Regions from separate parts of the Homo sapiens genome. Here all the other regions are linked to region 3. The links are contacts of gene promoters, found by promoter capture Hi-C in human tissues and cell types (Jung and others, 2019). All regions are on one chromosome and are shown on one strand. The core of a region is centred on a gene start or on the middle of the fragment in contact, and the rest is flanking DNA. Distances in the headings are between cores, read along the strand shown.

Region 1 (5,685 bases), core at 1,576-4,075, 700 kb after region 3:
AGGGGGGAGAAAGCCCAGCTTCACCCCGTTAAGCTTGCTCAGGATCAACATGCAAGCCCCAGGCTGGCTTTGCTGCTGGAGAGAAGTCTGGCCAGTGGGACAGCTCTCAGACCTGCCACGACCATTGATCTGAGGGCCAGCAGGTCACCCCTGCCTGCCACCTGCCTTGAGGCAACCACATCCACTTTGGAGACACGCATATGGTATGATACTTATTTCTCCTCTTTTGTTTTCCAAAGTTACAAGAGAAAAGTGGCCTACAACTATCTGAAGAGGTAGGGGCGGGTTGAACTTCCATTGATACAGAGAGGAAACGACATGAAGATGACCAGCCCAGGTCCTATTCCATCCATACAGCACAGAACCACCCAACCTGAGCTTGGCAACTACAGTGGCAGCCTCCGAGCCTAGAGTGTCTACTGAATTGTGGCTGCCCCTACTCCAAGAAGCCTGTCTTCACAATACTTTCCTCACCCAACGCTGCCCCAAATTAGTGGAATTTGATGTCAAAAGCAGACTTTTTTTTCCTGATTTTGCCAGAGTGAGTGAACTGGGAAAACTGCTCTTTGGCTTCTCTTTTGTCCCAGAGCCTCCTAAATCAATGCTGCGAAATGGTAGGGACAACACTGGAGTGAAGAAACCAAGCCACCCCATGGCTGTCCCAGGTTGGCTTTAGCCACATCCTGTTCAGTATCCTCCTCACTTCATACTAGAATATTAGTTAATTTTTCATTATAAAACTCTGCCGGGTGCGGTGGCTCACGCCTGTAATCCCAGCACTTTGGGAGGCCAAGGCGGGCAGATCACTTGAGGTCGGGAGTTTGAGACCAGCCTGACCAACATGGAGAAACCCCATCTCTACTAAAAATACAAAATTAGCCAGGTGTGGTGGCAGGCGCCTGTAATCCCAACTACTTGGGAAGCTGAGGCCTGAGAATCGCTTGAACCAGGAGGTGGAGGTTGCAGTGAGCCGAGATGGTGCCATTGCACTCCAGCCTGGGCAACAAGAGTGAAACTCAGTCTCAAAAACAACAACAAAAAACCTCCACGTATGGCCATAAACCACCCTTAAACCTGGGGATAAGGGTTGGAGACAGCATGCTGTACCGCTGCTAGGGTTTTGGACATGGTTTCCTGAGAGACCTTTATGCTCTGGGTCCTTCAAACCAGTCACATGGGGTTTGTGGGCACTATCTGCAGACCCACTGTTTTCAGACCCAGACAGGATGGAAAGTGGAGGCAGCATCTCTAGGTGAGTCTGGAGCAGCAGTGACAACTCAGCAGAACCTGTGTCAAGTCCTCATAGAAAAGGGAAAATAAGCTAGGATTCCCTCCCCGCTCCACTTTCTCCTCTGTCTCTTAAATAAAACAAGGGTTTGTGACCACTGGCCTTAAGTGCACAGAACTCCTACCTTCCTTGCCCAGGAACAAAACACTGAGTAGTTCTTATAACAGTCCACACGTCTGTCCTATTGCACTGTCAGATCTGAAGGGGAAAAACTTGATGAGATGTTTGGGGAAGTGGCAAGGGCAGACCCACTGTAGAGGCCACAGCACGTCACAGAGGACTGAAGGGGCTGAGGCGAGAGGGAGGTTGGGCAGAACTGTTACACATCGGTCCTCCAACTCTGATGAGCCTCTACCTCTTCTGGTACCACCAGCAGGAGTTCACAGTTCTTTCCTCGCAAATGATGTTTTAGAAACTTCCTATGGAAAAAGAGATAGAGAAAATGAAATGCTGGCAAGTTGCAAATTCCAGTCTCAGGACCACAAAGTCACCTGAAACCTCACTCTACCCTCGGCAGTCCAAAACACATCCCTGTAGTCATCTGGTTTTGGAGGGTTCCACATTTGGTTACCCTCCAATCTGTCCAGTTAAAATTCCAACCTGAATTTTGCTCATCCTTGTAGTTACTGCCAAGAGTAGCTGGATCTGTGAATAACAGTACCCAAAGTATATAAAGGACTTTTTCTTGGTTTGTTTGGAGACGGAGTTTCGCTCTTGTCGCCTGGGCTGGAGTGCAATGGCATGATCTCGGCTCACTGCAACCTCTGCCTCCCAGGTTCAAGTGATTCTCCTGCCTCAGCCTCCTGACCAGCTGGGATTACAGGCGTCCGCCACCACGCCTGGCTAATTTTTGTATTTTTAGTAGAGACAGAGTTTCACCGTGTTGGTCAGGCTGGTCTCGAACTCCTGACCTCAGGTGATCCACCCGCCTTGGCCTCCCAAAGTGCTGAGATTACAGGCGTGAGCAATCGCCTCTAAAGAACTTTTACAAATGTTCTTTGGTCCTGGGGAAATTCAGTGCTCCCTGGCCTGCATGTTTGTCTTCCTTTCTATGAACTGGCAACTACACTGTCTCAGTTGTCTTAAATAGAGAGAACGTTACAATGCCAGCCCCACCAGACTAGAAGGCTGGTATCCCAGGCTGGGCATCTTCCCTACCAAAAGGACTTAAAAGTACTGATGCGCCATTGAAGATTAAGGTCAGGTCCGAGACACTATGATTCTAAGGCAGGGAGAGAATCCAAGGGCACAGGAATTTCATTTCCTTTGTCAAATAACCAGAGATGAGCTCAGTGTCCCCAACCTAAGAAATGAAGCAGCCTAGCAACTTAGTCACAAAAGGTGCCGATTACCTGAGCTCGCTCTCGCCTCCAATCCACTCGGGCATCTTGAGTTTGGAGTCGAGGTTGTAGTAGGCCCCTCCCACCTCTCGAACACAGATCCAGTGCTGCCTTTTGAGGGGCAGTTTCAGTGGACCCCAGCATAGGCTGGAGGGCAGATTCATGATGAAGCCCATGACGTTAGTGAGGGCAATGACACCGACATCCCTGCAGGGGAGAAATGGTGGCAGGCTCTGATGCAGCCCATTTTCCAAGGTTCCCTGGCTGTAATACCACAACTGGCTACCTCCCCACTCATGCCATGAGCCCAAGTACTAAAAGCTTATACCACAACCGTGCTGTTCTCCATCAAGTCAAGCCTGATTCAGATTACCTGCGCTTGTCCCACCAAACAGCTTCATAGCCTTTGGTCTGAAGTGCTGCCATAATGACATTCACATCGTAGTTGCCATTTCCCAGCATGCTCTTCTTGTGAGGTGTCACCATGGTGTTTGGAGACAACCTACCAATGTGAAAAGAGGAGGGCTGAGACTTGCTGGATGCCTGAACCCCCTGACCCCGCACTACCAGGGATGGAGAGCACTTTACATCACTGCCCCTGGAAGTTAGTTTCCCCACATTCAAGTGCAATTTCCCCAGCTTCTACCTAAGTATTTTGTAAGTGTTCCATGAAGGTGACTCACTTATGAAATCCCAGCCTCCTGCAGCCTTTCTGCTCTTCCTCCTGATACTGATTTTCCTGCCTCATGCAAGCCTTTTTTTTTTTTAACATTGGAAAATAGGATTCAATCTTTTCATTTGCATGGATAGTAACTGGTGTCACTCCTGCTTTCTAGTTAAGGCCTGCAAACTTGGTAATCATTAATCATTAAATACTCAAAGGCATACAGGAGCCTAGACAGGTGACATAAATGTATAAACTGGGGTTGGATATAAGGCAATAAAAAGTAGTGAGGCCTACTGGAATGCACGACCCACCTAAAGGCATTCTGTGTGTGTGTGTGTGTGTGTGTGTGTGTGTGTGTAGTACTTGAATAAATTTTTCTTAAAATACCCAATAAATCAACTGAAAAAAAATTTGTGCCAGGCAAACAAAACTCAGCTGCAGCACTGGTTTGCCCACCCAGCTTGAAGCCATTTACTTCCAGGTTTCTTTAGCCAGTCTGTATTTTAAGACAAGGTCCATGCTGAAGGCATTTCTAATTCTATTATTTTACCTTCATAAACTTGTCAGGCCAGGAGCTGGGGAAAGGCCATTTTGAAGGAAGGGTTCAAGGGGCATACCTTTGGGCTTCGTGTGAAGGGGAGAAAGGGAAGTGTGGCGAGTTCCTCAGGACATAAAGTGCATGATCAAGAGGCTACTACATGCCATCTCCAGAAAAGAATCAAGACGTTAGGCCAAGGATGTCAACTCTAAAAAACTTAAGAAATCTTGTATTTTTAAAATTTTTCTGTGCACAGCAGAAATACTGGTATTTTTTTTCTTTCTTTTTTTTTTGAGTCGGAGTCTTGCTCTGTCGCCCAGGCTGGAGTGTGATGGCGCGATCTCAGCCCACTGCAACCTCCGTCTCCTGCGTTCAAGTGATTCTCTTGCCTTAGCCTCCCAAGTAGCTGGGATTACAGGCACCCGCCACCACGCCCACCTAATTTTTGTATTTTTAGTTGAGATGGGGTTTCACTACGTTGGCCAGGCTGGTTGGTCTCGAACTCCTAACCTTGTGATCCACCCGCCTCAGCCTCCCAAAGTGCTGGGATTACAGGTGTGAGCCACTGAACTCAGCAATACTGGTATTTTTCAAATATAAAACATACTCCTGGCCAGGCGCGGTGGCTCATGCTTGTAATTCCGGCACTCTGGGAGGCTGAGGTGGGCAGATCACTTGAGGTCAGGAGTTCAAGACCAGCCTGGGTAACATGGTGAAACCCCGTCTCTACTAAAAATACAAAAATTAGCCAGGCGTGGTGGTGCACGCCTGTAGTCTCAACTACTCAGGAGACTGAGGCAGCTAACTGCTTGAACGTAGGAGGCAGAGGCTGCAGTGAGCCGAACATAGGAGGCAGAGGCTGGATGTCACCACTGCATCCAGCCTGGGTGACAGAGTGAGACTCCGTCTCAAAAAACAAACCAACAAACAAAACAAAACAAAACCCCATGCTCCTGGCCGGGAGTGGTGGCTCACACCTGCAATCCCAGCACTTTGGGAGGCCAAGGTGGGAGTATCGCTTGAGCCTGGGAGTTAGAGACCAGCTTGGGCAACATGGCAAAACACTGTCTCTGCAAAAAATACAAAAATTAGGCGGGCATGGTGGCATGTGCCTATGGTCCCAGCTACTCGGGAGGCTGAGGTGGGAAGATCACCTGAGCCAGGGAAGTCAAGGCTGTGGTGAGCCATGACTGCACTCCAGCCTGGGTGATAGAGTAAGACCCTGTCTCAAAAAAAAAGAAAAAAAAAAAAAACCCACAGAATTAAAAACAACAAACATACTCCTGCCACTGCTTAAAACCTTCTGATGGCACCTAAAGCACTTAAATACACTCTAAACTACTTCCTTTGGCATGCAAGGCCCTCAAGGTCCTGCAGATCTCATCTCTTACCTTTTATTACACTGACCTTCTTACTGTTCCCTAAAAACAAAGCTCTTTTTCTCACTGTGCACTCATGCACTCACTGTTCCCGCTGTCTAGAATGTTCTTTCTGTAGTTCCTTATTGTTTGGGTGTCAAATGTTACTGCCATAGAGAGGCCTTTTCTTTTTCTTTTTTTGAGACAGAGTCTGGCTCTGTCGCCCAGGCTGGAGTGCAATGGAGTGATCTCAGCTTACTACAACCTCCGGAGAGGCCTTTTCTTGACCACCCAACCATAAGTTTCTCCCAGTCACTACCTCACATCAACCTTTTGATTTAATTACAGCCCTGTCACTACCAGATGTGTTTCTCATTGGTCTGTTTTTCTACACTAGACTGACAGCAGGGGCCTTGACTATCTGTGAACGCTACACTGCTAGGGGCCTAAAGAGTGCCTGGCACAAGACAGGTGCTCAAGGAATGTTTGCTGAA
Region 2 (6,139 bases), core at 3,176-5,675, 550 kb after region 3:
AGCACTTCATGTCCTGTGTATGAAAGTCATCCCATAAAACAGAGATGATTGCCTTAACCACTCAGCGACTATACTATAGACAATGTGTGACTTACCAAGACTAAAATTTTGAGTTGAATGGACATCATTTATTGTCTTTCTTTTTTTTTTTTTTTCTTTTTTGAGACAGAGTCTCACTCTGTCACCCAGGCTGGAGTGCAGGGGTGTGATCTCGGCTCACTGCAACCTCCCCTCCCGGGTTCAAACGATTCTTCTGCCTCAGCCTCCCAAGTAGCTGGGATTACAGGCACGCGCATTTACGCCCGGCTAATTTTTATATTTTTAGTAGAGACAGGGTTTCACCATGTTGGCCAGCCTGGTCTCGATCTCCTGACCTCGTGATCCACTGACCTTGGTCTCCCAAAGTGCTGGATTACAGGAGTGAGCCACCACACCCGTTCACAAGACTTTTTTTTTTTTGAGACAGGTTCTCACTCTCTTGCCCAGGCTGGAGTGCAGTGGTGCAAACATGGCTCACTGCAGCCTTGACCTCCCAGGCTCAAGCAATCCTCCTGCCTCAGCCTCCCAAGTAGTTAGGACTACAGGCATGTGCCACCATGCTTGGCTAATTTTTAATTTTTTTTAGAGACGAGGTCTGTCTATGTGACTTAGGCTCCTGGGCTCAAGCGATCCTCCTGCCTCGGCCTCCCAAAGTGCTGGGATTACAGGCGTGAGCCACCGTGCTTGGCCGAGGCCAGGATTTTTGTCTTTTTTGTTCACTAGTGAATTCTCAGAATATTGTTACATAGTAGATTTTCAATAAATATTCATTGAGTGAATAAATGATTTCCCCTGCTCAATCTTTTTAACTTGCTTAATAACATTTGAGTAGTTAATATTTTTCACAGGAATCTCTTGTAACTAAGTAGAAAATACTTATAAAAGGGTCTTGAGGCCAGACGCGGTGGCTCATGCCTGTAATCCCAGCACTTTGGGAGGCTGAGGCAGATGGATCACGAGGTCAGGAGATCGAGACCATCCTGGCTAACACGGTGAAACCCCGTCTCTACTAAAACACAAAAACAAAATTAGCCGGGTGTGGTGGCGGGCGCCTATAGTCCCAAGCTACTAGGGAGGCCGAGGTGACAGAATGGCATCAACCTGGGAGGCGGAGCTTGCAGTGAGCCGAGATCGCGCCATTGCACTTCAGCCTGAGTGACAGAGCGAGACTCCATCACAAAAAAAAAAAAAAAAAAAAAGAGTCTTGAAAAGTGAGAGATAGATATCAAACTGCGAAAGATGAAGCAAAATTGTTAAGGGTAAATTTGGAAAATGCTTAAAGAGAGACACATTCATTTCAATGTAATTTACAGAATTTACTCCAGCATATCAAATATCTTTTAATATATCTGTCAATGATACATTTAATCTGCTACCATATGATGCATTGCTTCTGTTTTAAAGTAATAGCACTTTGTATTGCAACCATCAGAGTAATAATTAATTTACTCTAATTAATTTAGGCAAGAATCTTCAATGGATGCTAATATAAATGCATGAAAGCTTATTGCAGAGCAAGATATTTACACAGTCTCAAATTATCACACCACAAATTACTAATTAAATATAAAAGAGAATTTTTGTAATTTTCTTTTACAATGGAGACATCATGTGAATATCATCTTAATCATATGATCAGAATTAACATCACTAATAATGGGACAAACTGCCATCATGTGCCTCCTGATATGATATACTGAGAAGGCCATAATATTGCTTATGTAGTTTTCCTGTCAAAATGCTTAACATTTTAAGTAATGAAGAAAAAATTCAACTTCAAATTGAGGGACATTGCAAAACAGTTGGTCTGTGTTCTACAAAAATGTCGGTGTCATAAAAGTCTAACAAAGGTTGAAGAGCTGTTCTGATTAAAGGAGACTAAAGAGACATGACAATTACACGCAGTGCATGTTCTTCAATTGATCCTGAATTGAATGCAAAACAAAAAAACCCCCAACAACTATAAAGGACATTATTGGGGCAACTGGAGACACTTGAATACAACTGTATATTAGATAACATTATTATGCCAATGTTAGAATTTCTGAATGTGATAATTATATTGTGGCTATGTAGAAGAACATCATTATTCTTAGAAGAGATATGCTGAAGTATTAAGAGGTGAAGTGTCATGATGTCTGTGAATAATTTTCAGTGGTTCAGAAGAAACTTCTCAAATGGTTCACCAAAAAATACATATACAGGCTGGGCGTAGTGGCTCACACCTGTAATCCCAGCACTTTGGGAGGCTGAGGTGGGCGAATCACCTGAGGTCAGGAGTTCGAGACCAGCCTGGCCAACATGAAGAAACCCCGTCTCTACTAAAAATACAAAAATTAGCCGGCCATGGTGGCAGGCGCCTGTAATCCCAGCTACTCGGGAGGCTGAGGCAGGAGAATTGCTTGAACCCAGGAGGCAGAGGTTGCAGTGAGCTGAGATGGTGCTGCTGCACTCCAGCCTGAGTGACAGAGCAAGACTCTGTCTCAAAAAACAAACAAACACGACTGAGTGCGGTGGGTCATGCCTGTAATCCCAGGACTTTGGGAGGCCAAGGTGGGTGGAACACCTGAGGTCGGGAGTTCGAGACCAGCCTGGCCAACGTGGTGAAACCCTGTCTCTACTAAAAATACAAAAAAAATTAGCCAGGGGTGGTTGGCAGGTGCCTGTAATCCTAGCTACTCGGGAGGCTGAGGCAGGAGAATTGCTTGAACCCAGGAGGTGGAGGTTGCAGTGAGCTGAGATCGCACCATTGCACTCCAGCCTGGGAAACAAGAGTGAAACTCCATCTAAAAAAAAAAGAGGCTGGGCACAGTGGCTTATGCCTGTAATCCCAGCACTTTGGGAGGCCGGGGCAGGTGGATCGTGAGGTCAAGAGATAGAAACCATCCTGGCTAACACGGTGAAACCCCGTCTCTACTAAAAATACAAAAAATTAGCCGGGTGTGGTGGTAGGTGCCTGTAATTCCAGCTACTCAGGAGGCTGAGGCAGGAGAATCGCCTGAACCTGGGAGGCGGAGACTGCAGTGAGCTGGGATCGTGCCACTGCACTCTAGCCTGGGTGACAGAGCGAGACTCCGTCTCAAAAAAAAAAAAAGAAAAAGAAAAACAAACAAAAAACCGTATACACATACCACATACATATACATATGAGAATGTGTGTATGTGTGGAGAAACAAAGGTGTATGTACACCTCCACACACACACACACACACACACACACATACAGGAGAGAGAAAAAATGTGGCAAATTTAACAACTGATGAACCTAGATAAATGAGTATGTCTTGCTCTGTCTCCCAGGCTGAAATGCAGTGGCATGAATTCATTGCACTAGTTTTTTAACTTCTCTCTGGTAAAAATATTTTCTAAATAAAAACCTTTAAAAAAATCTTTTTTTTTTTTGTTTTTGAGACGGAGTCTTGTTCTGTCACCCAGGCTGGAGTGCAGTGGCACGATCTTGGCTCACTTCAACCTCTGCCTCCCAGGTTCAAGTGATCCTCCTGTCTTAGCCTCCCAAGAAGCTAGGACTACAGGTGCACACCACCATGCCTGGCTAGTTTTTTTATTTTTAGTAAAGACAGGGTTTTGCCATGTTGTCCAGGCTGGTCTTGAACTCCTGACCTCAGGTGATCCTCCCACCTCGGCCTCCCAAAGTGCTGAGATTACAGTGAGCCACTGCCCACTGCACCCAGCCTTTAAAAGATTTTTTTAAAAGCTTTTTGGCTAGGCAAGGGGGCTCACACATGTAATCCTAGCACTTTGGGATGCTGAGGTGGGAGGATCGCTTGAGGCCAGGAGTTCGAGACCAGCCTGGCCAACATGGCAAAACCCTGTCTCTTCTAAAAATAAAAAAATTAGCCAGGCGTGGCGATGTGTGCCTCCCAGCTGCTCGGGAGGCTGAGGCTGGAGCATCACCTGAGCCTGAGAGGCAGAGGTTGCAGTGAGCAGAGATGGTGCCACTGCATTGCAGCTTGGGTGACAGAGTGAAACCTTGTCTCTTAAAAAAAAAAAACACACACACACTTTAAAAAAGCATTATCATGAATTTAGATTTGTTTTGCTTTGTTTGAGACAGTCTTGCTCTGTCTCCCAGGCTGGAGTGCAGTGGTGTGTATTTAGGATTATTTTGATTGCTTATTCAGACACATAATGCTCAAAATTTGTTACGGTGGCAACAAACCTTTGTTTGATTTATCTATTTTTATTATCCTACTTTAGCTCTCTGTGTGTTTCTATTCACTGCCGTCTTTCAGAGTCATCAATAGTTATGTGCACAAACACTTCAACAAATTCTGAATATGCCTAGTGTGAACTGAAATTCTTTTTCTTCAAACAGGAGACTTCTCCCATAGTGCCTCTGATAAATATATCTCATGTATATCCTGTAGAAAGATGACTTTTTTGTTTTTATGAATGGTGTTTATTATACTGATAAGCTGCAATATAAGTTTTTATTTCCCTAGGATCTATTTCTTATTGTCCTCCCATACCCCTTTAGCCCTAGACCAAAGAGAAGCCCAAAGTACTGCTGAAAATGGTTAAAGTATTGCTTTATTCTATAAAGAACTAGAGAAAAATAGATTCTGGTTACCAAGTGATATTTACAATTATGAAGTCATATACACTGTGCAATAAAGTGATTTTTTTTTTGAGATGCAGTTTTGCTCTTGTTGCACAAGCTGGAGTGCAATGGCATGATCTTGGCTCACTGCAACCTCCGCCTCCCAGGTTCAAGTGATTCTCCCACCTCAGCCTCCCGAATAGCTGGGATTACAGGTGCACGCCACCACGCCCAGCTAATTTTTTGTATTTTTAGTAGAGACGAGGCTTCATCATGTTGGCCAGGCTGGTCTTGAACTCCTGACCTCAGGTGATCCAACCATCTAGGCCTCCCAAAGTGTTGGGATTACAGGCATGAGCCACTGCGCCCAGTAATAAAGTGATTTGTGATATATTTGTGCCCACATAAAGACTAATGATTTTTAAATTCTTTTCTTTTTTCTTTTTTCTTTTTGAGATAGAATCTTGCTCTGTTTCCCAGACAGGAGTACAATGGCGCGATCTCGGCTTACTACAACCTCCACCTCCCAGGTTCAAGTGATTCTTCTGCCTCAGCCTCCGGAGTAGCTGAGATTACAGGTGTGCGCCACCACACCCGGCTAATCTCTGTATTTTTAGTAGAGACGGGGTTTCACTATGTTAGTCAGGCTGGTCTCCATCTCCTGACCTCGTGATCCGCCTGCCTCAGCCTGCTAAAGTGCTGGAATTACAGGCGTGAGCCACCGTGCCCGGCCTTGAAATTATTTTCTATTCTACGCTCTAACCCTCTTTATATTAACCTCTGTGAAATAAAAAGTAGAATATTGGGGCTTACGTCATAGTTGCTCCTGGATCGGCAGTCATTTGATTGGTCACAAAAACAGCCACGTTATATTCTGCATCAAGAGATAAAATTTTAAAACTATGAGAAAGGCAATATAGATATTTAAAAGTTCATTGTTTAGATTTCAGAGTTTAGACATATTGCATCATGAATTTATTTTATAAATAACATCATATTCCTATTTTTCATTGACAACAGAAATTATTTGTTATTATTATTATTAAGGTTAGAATAAATATTTTTGGTTTAAAAAGAGTTGTAAAGCCGGGCTCAGCGGCTCATGCCTGTAATCCCAGCACTTTGGGAGGCTGAGGCGGACAGATCACGAGGTCAGGAGCTCGAGACCAGCCTGGCCAACATGGTGAAACCCCGTCTCTACTAAATATACAAAAAATTGGCCTGGTGTGATGGCAGGTGCCTGTAATTCCAGCTACTCAGGAGGCTAAGGAGGAAGAATTGCTTGAACCTGGGAGGCGGAGGTTGCAGTGAGCCGAGATCGCACCACTGCACTCCAGCCTGGGCAACAGAGCGAGATACCATCTCAAAAAACAAAAAAAAAACAAAGAGTTGTATTCTCATAAAGGTAATTTTATTTAAAAAAAAATCGCTGCCTCCTGACATTATATTCCAAGCTTCTCTGCAAAGTATACTTGACAAACATAGTCACAGATGCCATTTTATTTTAAAGATATACCTTCTGAGATTTTTTGGAGTCGT
Region 3 (6,025 bases), core at 937-3,436:
TTTCAGAGCTGCTCTGGCACTCCCGGGTGGGAGTGGGGGACTGTCTTGTTCCACACATCCCCAGGAGGCCTGGCTGAACCCCAGACCTGAGTCGAGGGTGGGATAATTGCTCCCTGCGGGGGATGTTTTTCCTAGAGGTGTGGGCTGGTCCCAGGGAACCTGGGACTCTGAGGGCCCCTGGGCAGGAAGGAGGCCAAGGTTTCCTTCTGGCCAGAGTGCTCAGCTCCAGCTCTGGGGCAGTGGGGAAGAGGTTGCTCAACGTTGGGGTGGGGCCCTGGCAGGGAAGATGGCGCCGAACTGGGAGAGGGAGGAAAGAGATCAGCTTGGTGACTCTGGGGCAGGGCAGGAGGGGGAGCCCCTTACTGTGTGTCCTCTCCCTAGGAGGATGAAGAAGCCCCCAACTCAAAGGAGGGTGGCGTCAGAAAGTCCCAGGGAAGAGCCCTAGGATAGGATGAGGTCCCGCAGCAGCAGATTTGTCCCGCAGTTCTTCATCCCTCACTCTTCCAAAGACTCTCATCTGAATTCCGTTTTCTTTAAACCTCCCCTGAGTTCTCCATCTGACTGCCTCAGTTTCCCTGAATCTCCAGCCAACCCTTTGGTTCTTTCCAAGCGTTTCCCTCGTATCCTCCTGACCACAGCAGCTGGTGGCATAGTGTGCGTATCTGTGGGCAGGAGTTAGTGAAGGCCTCCTTCCCTCCCTCCAAAGCCCCAGGCCCCACGGTCTGCCACCCGCAAAATTCCAACCACGAGGGGGCGCCTTCCTGCCCGCCGCCCCGTAGGGAGACCCGGCCTAGGCCGCTGGAGTTCCGAGTTCCAGGGTCCTTGTGATGGAAGGGCGGGCGCGGCCCCCACACCTGGTCTTCCAGCCCTATCCAAGGAGGACTGCCAGACAGTCCCGCTCTGAGGTGCAGGAGGCCGGGCCGCCTCGGCTACCCTGAATCCACCCGAAGCTAGAGGGCCCGAGCCCGGGGGGCGGTCGGGTGCTCACCTCCAGAGCTTGCCCAGCGTCTTGCTGAGCTCAGCGTTGTGCAGGTGCGGGTACTGGTCCGCGAGCTTCCTGCGCGCTGCCTGAGCCCACACCATGAAGGCGTTCATGGGCCGCTTGACGTGCGGCTTGCTTTTGCTGGCGCCGTTGACGCGCACGGGCATGGGCACCAGCGTCCAGTCGTAGCCGCTGAGCACCTGGCTGACGGCCTCGCGGATGCACACGGGGAACTTGTCATCGTCCGCCTCGCCGTCCTGCTGCTCCTTCTTGACCTTGCCCAGCTCGCCTGGCCCCGGGCTGGCTCGCAGGCCCGATCCGCCGCCGCCGCCGTCGGGCCCTAGCGAGGGCGCGCTCCCCGGGGACAGGCAGCGGGGCTCCTCCGAGCCCACGGGGCTCAGCTCCACCTCCGATAGGTCCTGCTCCTCCGCCATGTCGCCCCCGGCCGCCGCCGCCGCCGCCTCGGCCGCCTCCCCCGGGCCAGCCGCCGGGGTCCTCGCAAAGAGTCCAACGCCCACCTGGATGGAAGGAGGGCGCGATGGAGCGGCCGCGCGCGCAGCCCCGAGGGCGGCCCGAGACAGGACGTGGGCACAGCCCCGAGGTGGCGGCCCTTCCTGCTCCAGCTAAACCCATCTGGCCCCTGGGGCCCACGCACATGCCAGACTCTAGGTGGGTGCGTCCCGCCTCTGTGTCTTCCCACCACCTGGTCCCAACCGTCTCTTGGTGTGGGTGGCTTTTTTTTTAGCCTCCTTTTTTGGGTGGAGGTTTGTTGATGATAAGGAAGAAAAAAACGGAGCCTTTATTTTGCTCTAATCCCGGCCCCTGGAATTTCCCACCTTTTCTCTCACCTTTCCTTCTTCCCTCAGCCTGCCCCAACGGGGTTTAGAGGAGAGCCAGGTGGGGGGCAAGGGCGGGGTGTCGCCTCTCTCCACCTCACAGCAGGGTCCCAGGCCTGGGCGGGCCAGGGAGGAGCAGGCTGCGCACTCACCTCCTCGGACCTCTCCTCCAGTCTGGGGCTCGTCCTTAGGAAGTGGAAAACCGTGTCCCAAGGTGTGCGGTCCAGCTCGGGGCTGGGAGGTGACGCTGGTGGGCTGGGAGGGAGGGGCGGGGGGCCCTGAGCCTCAGGCCACGGCCTCGTTAGGACGGAGCCTGAATCCTTACCACCAACCACCCTGGCCGGACAGCCCGAGACTGACTGAGCGACTGAGCCTGAGCCGCTGCGGAGGGCTGGGGAAGGAAGGAGGGGGAGAGGGGGGAGGGGAGAGGAGGGAGGGAAGGGCAGAAGGTGGAGCCTCCAGGCTTTCCTTCATCCCCAACACTCAGGGCTCCTCCACCCGGAGCCCAGGCCCCCCCACCCAGCTCCCTGCCCTACTGCCCAGGCCCATCTTGCTGAGGCTTATCTTGGGCTTAGTCTGGGAGGTGGAGGGGAGGTTAGGCCGAGGAAGGAAGAGATGTAGGCTGGAGGGTCAGAACCTGTTGGATGGAAGAAAATTGGGCCCAACCAGGACTCCTAACGTCTGCCTCAGGTGGCAGGATGGGCACTTGGCAGGGGACTAGGGAGAGACGTGAAGGCGGTGAGGGTCCTGGGGGCCCGTGAGGGTGGCTGGCCCTAGCTGCTTCGTCTGCGAAATCCTGTTGAGTGCCTAGTGTGTGCCAGGCACTGATGCCCAGCTCCTCACCCTGCCTCCTACCTTTTCCCAGGCAGCCCTTTCTGCCCCATCCTGCACAGTAAGAGAGACTTCTCAGGGATCCCTCTGAGAAGTGCAGAGCCCCAGCTTGACCCCTGGTCCCTTCTCTGCAGACACCCAGCACACGCGCGTTCTGGTCTGGTTCAAGGTGGAAACACAAGACTAAAGCTGCCAGGAGGCCAAGGTGGGACAGGTTGGGGGCCCTCTCTCAGTAGGTCTTAGAGGCATTTTGGGTTGCTACCTACTGGGACCCAGCTCCTTCCACACTGGGCTCACCCTGTCTTGGGAGAGGGTAGGGGAGTCCTAGTCCTGATTGTCACGAAGTCCTCTACTCCCCCACCCCAACAAGGGGTGGGGACTTGCCCTGCCTCTTCCCTCCTCTGCCCACCTCTCCCTCCCTCCCCTTTTCTTTCCTGCCCATCCTCCGTTGACACCTTTTTCTCTCTCTTTCCTTGGCCTCTCCTCCAAAGGTCGCAGTGCTGTTCTCTTAACTGAGGGCAGCCCCGCCGGGGTGTTGAGGCCGAGGTGGGGTGTATGTGGGTTATGTAATGGAGCTGGGGTCGCATTGGCAACCATGTGACGTTCTGAGCTCCTCAACAGCAGGGCAAAGCCCCAAGACCACCCCAAGGGGTCCTGTCTGGAGTGGGCTGCAAAGGGTCTGGGGAGGCAAGGCCTCATGCTTGGGAAAGTCCAAAGGGGTGTAGGGGGTGGGAAATGGGACACAATGAGGTAGTCACACGAGGCAGAGGCATGTTGGGGGTGGGGGGAGCAGACACTGGAACACACACACACACACACACACACACACACACACATGCTCACACACACAACCAGCCAGACAATCGGGCCAGTGTGTCTGGGGCCTCGGAGCCCAGTGAATTAGGAGTTTGATAAGGGTTTTCTCTTTCTCTCGCTTGCTGGCCTTGGACAATCTCCCCCCAGTTTTCCTCGACGCCACCCCCGGCGCTGCCAACCCTCCTCCCCCCGCCTCCCTTCTCTTCCCTGTGCCCAGACTCTTGTTCGGGGCCTTGAAACAGTGAGCTGTCTTTGTTCGAAATACAGGTGAACGGCAATCATGTGATTAACACACACACACATAAAAAGCTTTTTAACAGCGCCCGCTCGGCCTCAGAACCGCCCGGAGAGGAGCCGCCCTGGATGGACAGAGGGACGAGGGACGAGCATCTGCCGTCGTGTCCCGGCTGCCCTGCAGTCGCCTCCAACACCCGCTGCTGCCCGCCCGCTGCCTGCCTGCCTGGCATCTCTCTCTCCCGGTGGGTCCCCACTCATCCTTCCACCCCTCAGTTCCTCCTCTTTGAGGAAAGGACCTCCCCGCTCTCTGCTGTGTCTGTGACTGGCCTGAGACCCGCCTGGGGCAGGAGGGGTGGTTGTGGAAGGAAAGAGCCCAGAGTTAGGAGGTGGAATGTGGGGTCCCACAGCTGCCCCCTCTCTAACTCCCTGCTTCCTCCTTTGCCCTCCTTGGTCCAGCTGTGCCAGGATGGGGGTGGGGGTAGCAGTGGGCACGCTCTGTCTGCAGGAAGCCACGCTAGACAGAAGGGGCCACTCCCTCTCTCTCTCCCTTGTCCCCGCACAGACACTGCCTTCCTCTCAGGGCTGTGCTGGGCTTTTTGCTGAGCAGTGTTGGGTGAGGCAGGTGGGCCTGCAGGGCGGGTGGGAAGGGCTGTCAGATGACCAGTGCTGTGTGTGTGTGGTTGGGGCCCCTGCTGCGAACACATCCCTGCCCACCATGCTGGCAACTGGGATCCCCTCCATCCCATCCCAGGCCCTGGGAACCCAGTGCTCTCCAGCAGGCAAGGGTGAAGGACCCATAGTCATTCCTGAAGAGCAGGGAGCTTGGAGAGGGGAGGGATCCTGGCTGAAGACACCTGGGCCTCTGCCCCAGCAGGACAACAGGAGGGCCAGTGTCACCTTCTCCTCCTTTCCCTGCTGGGGGTGGCAGGGGTCCCTTTACCCCCTCATTCTTGACCCTTCTCCAGGGATGCTTGTGACCTCCTTACCCCACCCCCCATCACCTCTCTGTCCTGAAGTGAGGGTTTGTCACCGTCCATGGCAAGGTGTGGTGTCTGGTAGGCTCTATGACCTGCCTTCTCTCAGGGTGTTTATTCTGCAGCAGAGAGGGGTCTGCGGTCTGAGTGTAATGGTGGAAATCCAGGCTTCCTTCCATGGCCCAAGGAGGCCTTTCCGGAGCAACAGGGTTTTCCTGGGACTCAGCCTGGCTTTTGTTAAGGCAGGTCCCGGATTTACTCAGAAGATGGGCCCCAGAGAGGAGGAGAGGAAAGGAATACCTGTCAGTCAAACGTGAAGCCCACTGATGACACTGCCTGGCAGAGCTGCCTCCGGTCAGCAGTGACCCTTCACCCCCCAGCTCCCAAGTCCTCTTCCTGAGGGAGCTGGTCCGGCTTTATGGAAGGCTCCGCCTGTGTTCCCCCACTGGGTCCCTGGTCCCTCACCTGTCACGTGGGGCGATGGTCACCCTCCCTCCCTGCCTGCCCTGAAGGATACACTGAGATGAAGGTCAGGAAATCTGCTGGCTGCAGAACCAGGGGCCATGCAGGAGTGAGGGATGGTCTGGTCAAGTTGAGGCTCTGCCCCAGCCTCAGTTTCCCCACACAGGCATGAGACTGTCTTCCTGACTTTCAGAGGACAGGGCTGAGATGGGATGAGGGAACACAGGGAAAGCGTTTAGCACCTCTGAGTGCTGTGTGGATGCGACCTGGGGGGTCCTGGCCTCCACTCTTTAATTCTATCTGGACTGTGTGCCCTCCTACCTCCAGTTTCCCTGCGGGGGCCTTTCACAGGGCCTGGCTTGCGGATACGGGGTTTGGCGTAGGGCAGTGCTTCTCAAATGGGAAGGCGCACTGGGATTCTTCAGGTTGGGGTGGGGCCTGAGGTTCTGCATTTCTAATCAGTTGCCTAGGACTGGCTCTAATTCTTGTTGAATTTACAATCACTTGTGGAGTTAAGAAAAACATACTGGGCCTTGGTTGGGTGTGGTGGCTCACACCTGTAATCCCAGCACTTTGGGAGGCCAAGGTGGGCAGATCATGAGGTCGAGAGATTGAGACCATCCTGGCCAACATGGTGAAACCTTGTCTCTACTAAAAAAAAAAAAAAAAAAAAATTAGCTGGGCATGGTGGCAGGCGCCTGTAATCCCAGCTACTTGGGAGGCTGAGGCAGGAGAATCACTTGAACCCGGGAGGTGGAGGTTGCAGTGAGCTGAGATTGCACCATTGCACTCCAGCCTGGGCAAAAAGAGCGAAACTCTGTCTCAAAAAAAAAAAAAAAAAGAAAAAAAGAAAAACATACTGAGCCAGGCGTGGTGACTCATTCCTG
Region 4 (5,809 bases), core at 406-2,905, 570 kb after region 3:
ATATAGGGAGATTTAAAAATAGAGACACAAATCAAACCCATAGATTACTATTTTCATATTAAATTTGGCAATATGGGCATGGTGGCTCATGTCTGTAATCTTAGCACTTTGGGAGGCCGAGGGAGGTGGATCGCTCGAGCCTGGGAGTTCAAGACCAGCCTGGATAACATGGCGAAACCCAGTCTCTACAGAAAATACCAAAATTAGCCAGGTATGCTGGCCTGTGCCTGCAGTCCCATCTACTCAGGCTGCAGTGAGCCGTGATGGAGCCACTGCATTTTAGCCTGGGTGACAGAGTGAGACCGTGTCTCAAAAAATAAAATAGAATATAAATAAATAAATTTGGTAATAACCTGTGCATATTTGCTATTTGAGACCTTTTAACGTTTAAGATAATTTGACCTTTTTGTAATGGATTGGCCTCTGACTGATTAAATGGTACATTCCTTCAATTTTCAAGTTGATAACTAATTTTATAAATAGTATTTGAACATTTAATGGTGCCTACAACTCACTATACTTCTAAATTTATTTGAGTTACAAAAGATATTTAGGTAATTGGGAAGATTTTGCTGTTAATAATTAGATAATTAGACAAAGTTCTTTTTTTTTTTTTTTTTTTTTTTTGAGACGGAGTCTCACTCTGTCGCCCAGGCTGGAATGCAGTGGCGTGATCTTGGCTCACTGCAACCTCTGCCTCCTGGATTCAAGCAATTCTCTGCATCAGCCTCCTGAGTAGCTGGGATTACAGGCACCCGCCACCATGCCCGGCTAATTTTTGTATTTTTAGTAGAGACAGGGTGATCCTGTCTTTAGTAGAGACCTTGTGATCCACCCGCCTCAGCCTCCCAAAGTGTTGGGATTACAGGTGTGAGCCAGTGCACCTGGCCAACAAATAAAGTTCTTAAAGAAAATACAATACACTAAATGTATAAACATAATTAAAATGTTTAAGAGAATTTAATCTTGTTATAAAAGCACCCTTAAAATGTGCTAGATTTATAAAGGGACTTAAAGCTTAAGGAAAAATGTATAATATTTTAATTAATTAAATATTAATTTTTAAAAACCTAGCTCCTGGCTGGGCGCAGTGGCTCACATCTGTAATCCCAGTACTTTGGGAGGCCGAGGCAAGTGGATCATCTGAGGTCAGGAGTTCGAGGCCAGCCTGGCCAACATGGTGAAACTCTGTCTCTACTAAAAATACAAAAATTAGCCCGGTGTGGTGGCACACACCTGTAGTCCCAGCTACTCAGGAGGCTGAGGCAGGAGAATTGCTTGAACCCAGGAGGCGGAGGTTGCAGTGAGCCGAGATCATGCCACTGCACTCCAGCCTGGGCGACACAGCAAGACTCTGTCTCAAAAGCAAACAAACAACAAAAAAAAACCTAGCTCCTGAATGATCTTTTCTGTTCTCAAGAGCAAACATCAAGGGCACCAGAAAACTCACAATAACAGTAATTATTTCTTTAGCCCAGTGGTTCTTAGACCACCATGTGGTAGAGTAACTAAAGAAAATCAGATTGTCATTTGAATCAAGTGTTTTGTTGATCAACCTCATTTTGACCAATTTGCCTAGGGGTAGGATTTCTCCAAGCCTCTTCCTTAACTTTACTTGAAAAAAGGGTATGTGATTTTAAAAGTCTGGGACAATGCTGGGTTAAACAGGTATTTTCTTTTTCTTTTTTTCTTTTGAGACTGAGTCTCACTCTATTGCCCAGGCTGGAGTGCAGTGGCACGATCTCGGCTCACCACAACCTCCATCTCCCAGGTTCAAGCGATTCTCCTGCCTCAGCCTCCCGAGTAGCTGTGACCACAGGCACATGCCACCATGCCCGGCTAATTTTTTGTATTTTTAGTAGAGACGGGGTTTCTCCATGTTGGTTAGGCTGGTCTCGAACTCCTGATCTCAAGTGATCCACCCGCCTCGGCCTCCCAAAACGCTGGGATTAAAGGTGTGAGCCACCGTGCCCAGCCATTTTTTTGGTAATTTTTAGTAGAGACAGGGTTTCACCATGTTGGCCAGGCTGGTCTAGAACTCCTGACCTAAGGTGATCCACCCATCTTGGCCTCCCGAAGTGCTGTGATTACAGGTGTGGGCCACCGTGCCCTGCCAAAACAGGTGTTTTGTGTCACTGCAGGATTTCACAGGCTAGTGTGCGCTGTGACTCTTCAAGAAGAATATATAGTATATGGTACTTCTCAAACTTATTCACTATTTGTTTATTCATTCATTTAGTCATTCAACAAATATTTATTGCACACCTAGTTTATGCCAGGGATTGTTTTGTGCACTTGGGATAAACTAGAGAACAAAAGAGACAGAATTTTTTTCTCTCACGAAGTTTACAATCTAGTGAGAGATTAGATAATAAACACAAATAGGCCAGGCGCCGGTAGCTCACACCTGTAATCCCAGCACTTTGGGAGGCTGAAGCGGTGGATCATGGGATCAGGAGTTCAAGACCAGCCTGGCCAAGATGCTGAAACCCTGTCTCTACTAAAAGTACAAAAATTAGCCGGGCGTGGTGGCGGGCACCTGTAATCCCAGCTACTCGGGAGGCTGAGGCAGGTGAATCGCTTGAACCTGGGCAGCAGAGGTTGCAGTGAGCTGAGATCATGCCACTGCACTCCAGCCTGGGTGACAGAGCAAGACTCCGTCTGAAAAAAAAAATAAATAAATAAAATAAAAAATAAACACAAATAAGTAAAATATGTAGTACATCAGATGTTATTAAATGGTATGGATAAAAATAAGGCCAGGAAAGGGGACAAGGAAGACAGAGTATGAAAGTTAGGAGGTTATACTGTCAAATAAAGTGATCAGAGAAGTTCTCATTGAGACATGGACATTTTTGCCAAGACCTGAAAGAGATGACAGCAAGCCATGTAGATCTAAGAGGAAAGAATATGATAGGCAGAGGCAGCACAAAGTGCAAAGGCCCTGATGCAGGAGTGTATCTGACATATTCTGGGAATAGCAAAGAGGTCACTATGGCTGGTACATAGAAAACTAGAAAAGTGAAATATTAGAGATGGGAGAGGACTTTGGCTTCTTTTCTGAGTGAGAGGGGGAATCATCAGGGTGTTATGAGCCACTGCATTCCAGCCTAACCTATGTTTTAAAGTGACCATTCTGGCTCTTTAGTGAATTAAAAAAAAAAACAAAACAGTAGGGGCAAGGTCTCAAGGAGGGAGGTTAATTAGAGGTTATTATAATAATCCAGGGGAGATATTAATAGGTGGTAGTTTAGTCCAGTGAGGTAACAGTAGAGGTGGTAAGAAATAGTTGAATTATATTCTCACTCTCTATGTACACACACACATATACACATAAAAATAACATATATTATATATTAATCTTTTATTATAGAAAATATCAAGCATAAACAAATGTAGAAAAAAAATAATGAACCATCGTGTCTATCACTCAGCTTCAACAATCGTCAACTATGAACTCAGGGTAAATCTTTTTTCATATAGACCACTAACCATTTACCTCCCTTCCCATATTATTTTAAGCATATACTAAGCAACATATCATTTCATTATAAATATTTCAGTATGTATCCCTAAAAGATGAAGATGAAGACTCTCATCTTTAACAACCATATTCCCACTATCACACTTAAATTTAGTAATTCCTTAATTTTTTTTTTTCAGACAAGGTTTCTCTCTGCGTCACCCAGGCTAGAGTGCAGTGGCATGATCGCGGCTCACTAGAGCCTCAACCTCAACCTCCTGGGCTCTAGCAATCCTTCTATCTCACTCAGACTGCTGAGTAGCTAGAACTACAGGTGTGCACCATCACACCCAGCTAATTAATTTTTTTTTTTTTTTGTAGAGACAAGGTCTCAGTTTGCCGTTAGGATGATCTCAAGAGATCCCCTCCCCACCTCCAGCCTTGGCCTCCCAAGGTGCTGGGATTACAGGTGTCACCCACTGCACCCGGCCAGGTGATATGTCTTTTAAATCTCTTTAATCTATAGGTCTTCTCCCTGACTCCATCTCTTTTTTCCTCCTTGTAATTTATTTGTTGAGGAAACTGGGAGGTTTGTTCTGACTAAATATATTTTGAAATTAGAACAGACAGGATTTATTAATGGGTTAGAGTTAGGGTGTGTGAGAGAAAAAAGATGTCAAGGATAACACCCAGGTTTTAGGTCAGAGGATCAGGAAAGAGATAGATCTAAGATGAGGGAGACTTTGGGAGAAGCAGATTTGGGGCAAAGGTCAGAAGTTTGATTTTTGGACCTGTGAAGTCTGAGCTATCAATTAGACGTTCAAGTGGAGGTATATTTGACTATGAAATCCTTTTTTTCTTAATGTATCTTGTGAGGCCAGCATTTTGAGAAATACTTAGAGGAAATACTGCTTTTGTTCTAAATGCTCTTGGGCACTGCTGTAACACATGAAACACTAATTCTTTCTAGTAAGGTAGGGAGAAAAAACCCACATTTTAGTAAACTTGCATTGAGAAGATGATGATATGTCTTGGGGATCATAAAAGAGTAAATAAAAAGGGATGTTAAAACTTCTCCTGCAGAAGAGCAAAAATAACTGCAATATTTCTGAAATATTTAATCTAACAATTGCTTTTTGAGTAAACCCAAAATGTGCAATGAAACATCCTTCATATGGAGAAGGAAAGTAAATGAAAAGTTAAACTGATTTTTAAAAGTGGTTTGAGATTAATATTGGCTGATTCAGAAACTAGATTTTGGGTCTGAATTTCTTGTAAGACATTTAATCTTGCTCCTCCAAGCAGTCTAGAATTTGTTTCAGTTATCATTTAGAAAAAAAAACAAACAAACCCAAACTTCAAATGAAGAAGCTACTTCTACTACTTATAGTAGAAGTAACCAGAAAGAGGAAAAGAAACATGGTATTCCAAAGATTATGCTTAGTGATTATAAAAAAGTAAGATACATACTCAAATTCCTGGCTCCCGGTGGTGATATGGAAAACCATTTTCCTCTTTTCACTATACTCAAATGCAGTCAAGAATCCTGGTTCCTACAGAAAGATAAAAGGAAATGTTCAAAAAGAGTTTAAAGATCATGGTTGTATTTTCAAATGTTGCCCAAAATGATATACTCAGTTATTAAGATCATCATTTGGTATAAGCTACAGTTCACTTGTCCTTGAAGGCAGTACAAGATTATGGTTAGGAACACAGGCTTTAGAGCTGCCCTTTCTAGGTTCAAATCATGTCTCTAATAGTTATTAGTTCTATGATATGGAGTAAACTACTTAATCTTGCTATACATCAGCTTCCTCTTTTGGGTCAAACATGCAACAGTGTTTCTTCAAGGAGTAGCTGTGAAAATTAAATTATATATATATACACACACACACATATGTATACACACATATACATGTACACATATATACACACGTTATATACACATATATACATATATGTGTATACATATACATATATACACATATACATATACATATATACACACATATATACATATACACATATATATACACATATTCCTGGATTCAAGTGATTCTCCTGCCTCAGCCTCCCAAGTAGCTGGGATTACAGGCACTTGCCACCATGCCCGGCTAATTTTTTGTATTTTTAGTAGAGATGGGATTTCACAATGTTGGCCAGGATGGTCTCAAACTCCTGACCTCAGGTGATCCACCTGCCTTGGCCTCCCAAAGTGCTGGGATTACAGGCGTGAGCCACCGTGCCCAGCCAAATGAGATATAATTATGGCATAAAGCAGAGGGTATTTTACTAACAATTCACTTTTTTTCATTCAACAGCATCATTTTTTTTCCAGCTGTAGAA
Region 5 (6,136 bases), core at 2,897-5,396, 520 kb after region 3:
CTTTGGGAGGCGGAGGCCAGTGGATCACTTGAGGTCAGGAGTTTGAGACCAGCCTGGCCAATATAGTGAAACCCTGTCTCTTACTAAAAACACAAAAGAGTAGCCAGGCGTGGTGGTGCACGCCTGTAATCCCTAGCTACTTGGGAGGCTGAGGCAGGAGAACCGCTGGAACTCGGAAGGCGGAGGTTGCAGTGAGCTGAAATGGCACCATAGCACTCCAGCCTGGTAGACAGAGGGAGGGTCCGTCAAAAAAAAAAAAAAAAAGCTGAACATAGATTTATGACCTTTCCTTCTTCTTTGATCTCTACTTTTACCTTCTATCTCCTTCTTGTTCCCAAATGGTATTATTAATTTACAGAGAAAAAAACACTAACAAGACTTATTTAAGGCTTTAACACTCAACTAATTACTTAAGATCAACTTCTTGCTTTTTATATACCTTTCACAACAGACAAGCTCAAGAGGAATACAAATATGACCACTAGCCAAAGCTAATATTTAAGAAATCAGAAGCTACTTTTCCTAGAAGAATCTTAACACTAAGATGGCCTTAATTTTCCCTATTTCGATCTTGTAAAGTACAGGTCTTTGTTTGGCATACAAACTGTATAGCATTTTCTCAGTTTCTTTACTCCTTGTAAAATATTGTACTGAATTTAGTTCCCTTTTCCCACTCTAACCCACTTGTAACTTCATCTTATATAAAGTTCCACTTTATCATTGATAGGCAAGTAGGTGTATTATTCTACAGGGCCTCAATTTCCTGCAATTCAAAGCCATTAGAACTCTGGCTTAACCAGCCAGACATTCCTCTAAATACATACGTAACAAAAATTGATGGCAGGAGATTTTATTGGGATCACTGGATACCTACACTCAACAGGCAGAACTTGGCTAATTCCATTTATACCACTACTGAGACAGTGAAGACAAATTAAGAATCAGAACAGGAAGAGCACATAGCATAGGGATACCCGTGTCAGCGACATATTTAATATGCCCCTCAGCTTAAGACTCAATACTGAACAGACCAAAAGGCCACCTCAATTGCCGCTCCCGCCACACTTGCAAATGAAGCAGCTAAATAAGGTACTTTTCAAGAGGTAGAAAGTCTTTGGATTATCACTCTTGCAAATTATAAAAGACTTCATTGTTATTGCCACATTGCAATGCTACCCAAACCTTAGTGACTTAGGAAAAAATAAAACTTGAAAGTAAGATTCCTGTTAAGGCTTTAAACTGATGATTATCATTCATGTATTTTTTTTTCCTCTCTCCTTACTTCCCTGGCTATTTATTCAAGACATTCTATTCTACACTAAACATTTAATTTGAAACATGTGGTTCTTGGAAAATATGCCGTCTTCCATGTTTATAATTAATGCTGACATAATTAATGACCTCAAAATTCAAGAAAGCCTTTTACTTTTGAGCATATCCATGCCATCTTTAAATACGCACACTGTACTCTCTGGTATACTATGCTGCTCAAATGTTTTTATCCGGTCAGTAATTAGTTTAATTTGGCTTTACAAAAAAATTCACCTTTGAAGTCATATATTAACATTAAAAACCATACTACTTCAAATGTACAATGCCTATCATTTTTGCATCACACATGTGAAATACATGAACTGACCTCACCTATTCCTTTTTCAAAATAACCACCACTTCAACTGTGTAACACTCAGTTGAAACAACAGCAATTCAAATAATCAAGAACATTTCTTGGGAAAGGGAGAGTTGGGGCACAGATCTTATGAAAGAAGGCTAGTTCGTTTGAAATTTTTAAAAAATGTCATCTGATACTCAAAGTATGGATCAGTAATTCACTTTTTTCCTTTCAAATAACTTATTAAAGCATATATATGGTGAAAGGAAATATTAAACCAAACACCAATGGTAAAGAAATAGAACACTATTAGTAACTTGTAGCCCCTCTATGTGCCTATTTCAAGCTTACAACTTTCACCCTAATAACCACTACCTTGAATTTTGTTAACCACTCCCTTTCCTATCATATTTGCACATATCCTTAATTAAATGTGTCACCCTACCACAACGTGCTTTTTAACTCAACACTTCTGTGACTTATCCACATTAATCCAAGTTCTTTTCTCTTTTTCACGGCTGATTCAATTGTACGAATACCCACAATTTATGGAGACATTTGCGTTGTTTCCAATATCCTGTTAGCACGAATGCTGGTATATAAACTTTTCTGTACAAGGATCCTGGGGTACCTGTGCAAGGATTTCTCTAGGCATTACAGTCTAGGGTATAAAGCTTAGGGAGGAATTGCTGGGTCGTTTTCAACTTTCCTAGATAATCTCAAGTTCTTTTTCTAAGTCAATGAACTGAAATTCACTTCTAAACTTAGCAATACTGTCACACGCGAAGCAAACATTCCACCTCTCATCCTCTAAACAATGAGATAAAATATTTTCCTTCCTAATAAGGTATAAATCAAAATAATTTTGTAAAAAGTGGCAACTGAAGTGCTTGAGACTAGTAAATCCAGCAGTTGTGGATCTGAACCACAAAAGACAAAAACGTTTGGAGAAAATATCGTTAACAGAGCGCCTACTACAGTGAGACTATTACATCCATTATCTCTTAATTCCTGACAACACAGCAAAGTAAAGGCAATTATCACGTTCCTCAGAGGAAACAGGCTCACAAAAGGTAGGATCTTGACCAAGGTCACACACACACATATCAAGTGGCGTCACGTAACTCTTTGGGGAAGCGGGGGGGTCGGGGGAGACGGAGTTTCGCTCTTGCCACGGGCTGGAGTGCAATGGCGCGATCTCGGCTCACTGCAACCTCCTCCCCCCGGGTTCAAGCGATTCTCCTGCCTTGGCCTCCCGAGTAGCTGGGATTACAGGCATGCGCCACCAAGCCAGGCTAATTTTGTTATTTTTAGTAGAAACGGGATTTCTCCATGTTGATCAGGCTGGTCTCGAACTCCTGACCTCCGGTGATCCGCCCGCCTCGGCCTCCCAAATCGCTGGGATTACAGGCCTGAGGCACCACGCCCGGTCCACAATACCAAGAACTTTCTAGCGAGGCAGAATAGTTGACGCTGCAGTCCAATTAGAGAAAAAAGGCTGAAATATTAAGATTAAAACTAAAGTAACGACCCAAAAACCCATCCTTCCCCCAAACACGGTCATTTAGATGGCAAGCAACTCCACTGCTTTACATCCCAATGCATTTCCTCCGACTTAAAATATAACTGAAGAGAATTAAAATCTATTTCTAAAAATGAGAAGTTGGTCTTTTCGTCTCCCGTGCCTTAAACAGTGAACTCTGGGGAGAGAACGTCAAGGGTGCCATTTCGTGTAAGGCTTTCCTGGGCTGAAGTGTTCTCTCAGGAAGATCCGCGTTTTTCAGATGAACGCCGAGGCCTGGAGACATCGAACAGCCCGCCCGAAGCGGCCCGGCTCGAGAGCCGGGAAACCAGGCGAGGCGCCAAAGCCCGGGCCTGGGCTGATGCGGCCAGGCCGCCCCTCCCGATCCCCCGCGGGGCTGGGATGGGGCCGGGCCGCGCCACGACGGCCGTCCGCACGGAGAGGCCCAGCGTCGCCAAGCGGCCGCCCTCCTCGGGTCCCGAGTGACCCCGGGGCCGAGGTCCGCGCACGAAACCGCTGTCTCGCCTCGAGTCGCCTCCCCTCGCCTCCCGGGTCGAGAGCAAGGCTCCCAGGCTCGCAGTCCGCCGGGCCTCCCCAAGAAGCAACTCCCCCACCCCCACGCCAGGCCTCTCCTCTCCTCCCCCACCCTTACCCTCCACGGTCACGATCCCGGTCCCGGTCCCCAAAGCCTCCTCCGCGCATGGTCCCAAAAGGATAGAGATCTGGGAGCGGGGCACGGATGGCCGGGCTCGGGAGGGCCTGCGGCTCCGGTCTGGTGACGACCGATGGCGGCGGCGCCTCCGCTGTTGGGGCGGCGGCAGGCGCAGCGCTCTCTCGCTCCGACGCGCTGTCTCCCGTCGCAGACGCCACCGTCGCCGCCTCTCTCGTCGGAGACGGGAGCAAAACACAGAGAATCGGGGCTACAAAGCCGGTGGGCAGGTTTGGCTACGCTCAAACCGGGCAGTGCCGCGGTTTAGGCGTCTCCTTCCTTCCCAGCGACTGCACAAAATGGCGGCCGCCGCTGAGTCGGCTCCAACTTAACGCTGCGTACGGCGGAGACGATACGTAAACAGCGCCTCGGAATAGCCCGAGGGCTCCGCGGGGAACTACGGGTATTCTTGGAAGCACTTTACGTCAGTTGCGACGATGGGTGTATTTTGCGGTCTGTACAAGAAAAACAAAGTACGGAGCGAGCGTAGAGTTCTCGCGCCACCCGAACTAGAACGTGGGATGAGGTGGGAGGAAGCGCCTCTGGTGCGACGTAACATTCTTTGCGTCGTTAGCCGGCCTGCTGTTGCTAAGATGCGCAGTATGCGTAACGCATTCTGTTTAGAGAATAGAGGATTTTGCCTGATTCCGATCTCGGTACAGACCCCGCGGCCGGCTTGAAGAAGTTGCTTTGCAGAGACAATAACCGTCCTCCATATTGTTATCAAGTTTCAGAGTCCTCTGGCGCCAGAGGCCGGGAGGGTCTTAAATTCCGTGGCTGGCCTTCCTATATGGCGCCGCCAGCCCTCTCGCCCCACCGCCCTGGGCCCGCTGAGAATGGCGGCGGGCCCCGGCGCCATTTCCTTTCCGTTGCCTTTCGCTGCTCTGTCTCCGGCAGCCATGATGGAAGAGCCGTGTCCCTTTCTTTCCGGAGTTTGTGAGGTGGCGATGTCCCTTCCAGGTTAAAGTGCCCTCAGCTACATTTGGTTCACACTGAGGTGCATTTTCTGAACCGTATATTTTTACCGTCCCTGGCCGAGCACAGCTGTTGCTAATACAGAAACAAAATGTGCTTGGAGGCCAGGCATGGTGGCTCACGCTTGTAATACTAACACTTTGGGAGGCCGAGGCGGGAGGATCACCTGAGTCCCGGAGTTCGAGACCAGCCTGGCCAAAATGGCAAAACCCCGTCTCTACGAAAAATACAAAAATTAGCAGGACATGGTGGCGGGTGCCTGTAGTCCCAGCTACTTGGGAGGCTGAGGCAGGAGAATCGCTTGAACCCGGGAGTCGGAGGTCGCAGTGAGCCGAGAACGTGCCACTGCACTCCATCCTGGACGACGGGGCAAGAATCCGTCTCAAAAAAAAAATTGCTTGGAGCCCCAGTGGACTCCGTGGGCCCTTTGCTGCCGTTGAACGGCGCTCCTCAGAAGGCCCGGAGAAGACCCCAGCACTCTCAGGAGAACAAGGTTTCAGAGCGATGGTCTTTAGACACAGAAAGGGCGAAGGCTAAGGACAAGTGTTTAACCAGGCTAGTCCACGTTCTCCGCTCAATTCCTTCCAGACTGGCTTCCCTCTCCTTACCTGCTTCCTGTCGTCTCAAACTGCATTTTGAAGCCCCGCAAGCTTGGCCAAATGGCGTCACACGACTGTTGAGCTGTTAGGGCCCTCGAGACGGGCCCATCTAACGTCTCAATTCAACAGATGGGTAGAAGCGGGGAGATTTGGCCCCTCAGTGTGGGTGCTGAGTGTTTGTTTCCCAAATTTTTGGGAACATAGCATAAGAAAAGGAGCTTCAAAAAGAAAAAAAACATGGACCACTGATTTTTCTGTGGTTATGTGTTCTTTTTCCCCAAGTACGTTCTTAACATTGGCAAGTGAACCTCTTAAAGTGATTGAGACTCGCCTGGGTCATATTCTTTTTCTTTTTTTTGTCTGGAGTGCAGTGGCACAATCTCGGCTCACTGCAACCTCTGCCGCCCGGGTTCAGGCAATTCTCCTGCCTCAGCCTCCCGTGTAGCTGGGATCACAGGTGCTTGCCCTCGCACTTGGCTAATATTTGTAGTTTAGCTGGGGTTTCACCATCTTGGCCAGGCTGGTCTTGAACTCCTGACCTCGTGATCCACCCGTGTCGACCTGCCAAAGTGCTGGGATTACAGGCGTGAGCCACCGCACCGGCCTGGGTCATGTTCTTTTATTTACACTGTTAACCTGCCCCAATCCTCATCATCTCTTGCCTGGATGACTGCGCTCGCCTCTTTTTAATCTGCCTGCTCCTGTCCTTGCTCACTCTG

What was found. Contacts are between HindIII fragments. The study calls those that stand out against the background at their distance.
Region 1: a fragment that was not itself captured here is called in contact with the fragment with the promoter of SOX10 in region 3 in 3 of the 25 tissues and cell types used here (dorsolateral prefrontal cortex, lymphoblastoid cells and mesenchymal stem cells).
Region 2: a fragment that was not itself captured here is called in contact with the fragment with the promoter of SOX10 in region 3 in 4 of the 25 tissues and cell types used here (dorsolateral prefrontal cortex, lymphoblastoid cells, mesenchymal stem cells and 1 more).
Region 4: a fragment that was not itself captured here is called in contact with the fragment with the promoter of SOX10 in region 3 in 4 of the 25 tissues and cell types used here (dorsolateral prefrontal cortex, lymphoblastoid cells, mesenchymal stem cells and 1 more).
Region 5: the fragment with the promoter of DDX17 here is called in contact with the fragment with the promoter of SOX10 in region 3 in 3 of the 25 tissues and cell types used here (liver, lymphoblastoid cells and mesenchymal stem cells).

The regions. Positions count from the first base shown.
Region 1 is chr22:38,686,295-38,691,979 of GRCh38, forward strand. JOSD1 (Josephin domain containing 1) reads right to left here. Exons shown (of 5, transcript NM_001360236.2): 3 at 3,002-3,130; 4 at 2,641-2,835; 5 at 1-1,707. The coding sequence ends at 1,608. Among named protein-coding and RNA genes, the nearest start is that of TOMM22, 7.2 kb to the left of the region's middle. The HindIII fragment of the contact is 8,429 bases long and covers 1-5,685 here.
Region 2 is chr22:38,532,179-38,538,317 of GRCh38, forward strand. DMC1 (DNA meiotic recombinase 1) reads right to left here. Exons shown (of 14, transcript NM_007068.4): 11 at 6,117-6,139; 12 at 5,414-5,474. Among named protein-coding and RNA genes, the nearest start is that of DDX17, 29 kb to the left of the region's middle. The HindIII fragment of the contact is 3,555 bases long and covers 2,649-6,139 here.
Region 3 is chr22:37,982,369-37,988,393 of GRCh38, forward strand. It overlaps SOX10 (SRY-box transcription factor 10), which reads right to left and starts at 2,187. Exons shown (of 4, transcript NM_006941.4): 1 at 1,971-2,187; 2 at 989-1,500. The coding sequence starts at 1,416. It also overlaps a transcript of POLR2F not described here. RefSeq lists enhancers at 456-1,293, 3,248-4,082. The HindIII fragment of the contact is 28,697 bases long and covers 1-6,025 here.
Region 4 is chr22:38,557,354-38,563,162 of GRCh38, forward strand. DMC1 (DNA meiotic recombinase 1) reads right to left here. Exons shown (of 14, transcript NM_007068.4): 5 at 4,934-5,016. Among named protein-coding and RNA genes, the nearest start is that of DMC1, 9.9 kb to the right of the region's middle. The HindIII fragment of the contact is 5,518 bases long and covers 1-4,414 here.
Region 5 is chr22:38,502,165-38,508,300 of GRCh38, forward strand. It overlaps DDX17 (DEAD-box helicase 17), which reads right to left and starts at 4,147. Exons shown (of 13, transcript NM_006386.5): 1 at 3,787-4,147. The coding sequence starts at 4,073. RefSeq lists enhancers at 3,212-4,103, 3,983-4,172, 4,104-4,995, 4,573-4,982 and silencers at 3,423-3,592, 3,623-3,892. The HindIII fragment of the contact is 16,171 bases long and covers 3,878-6,136 here.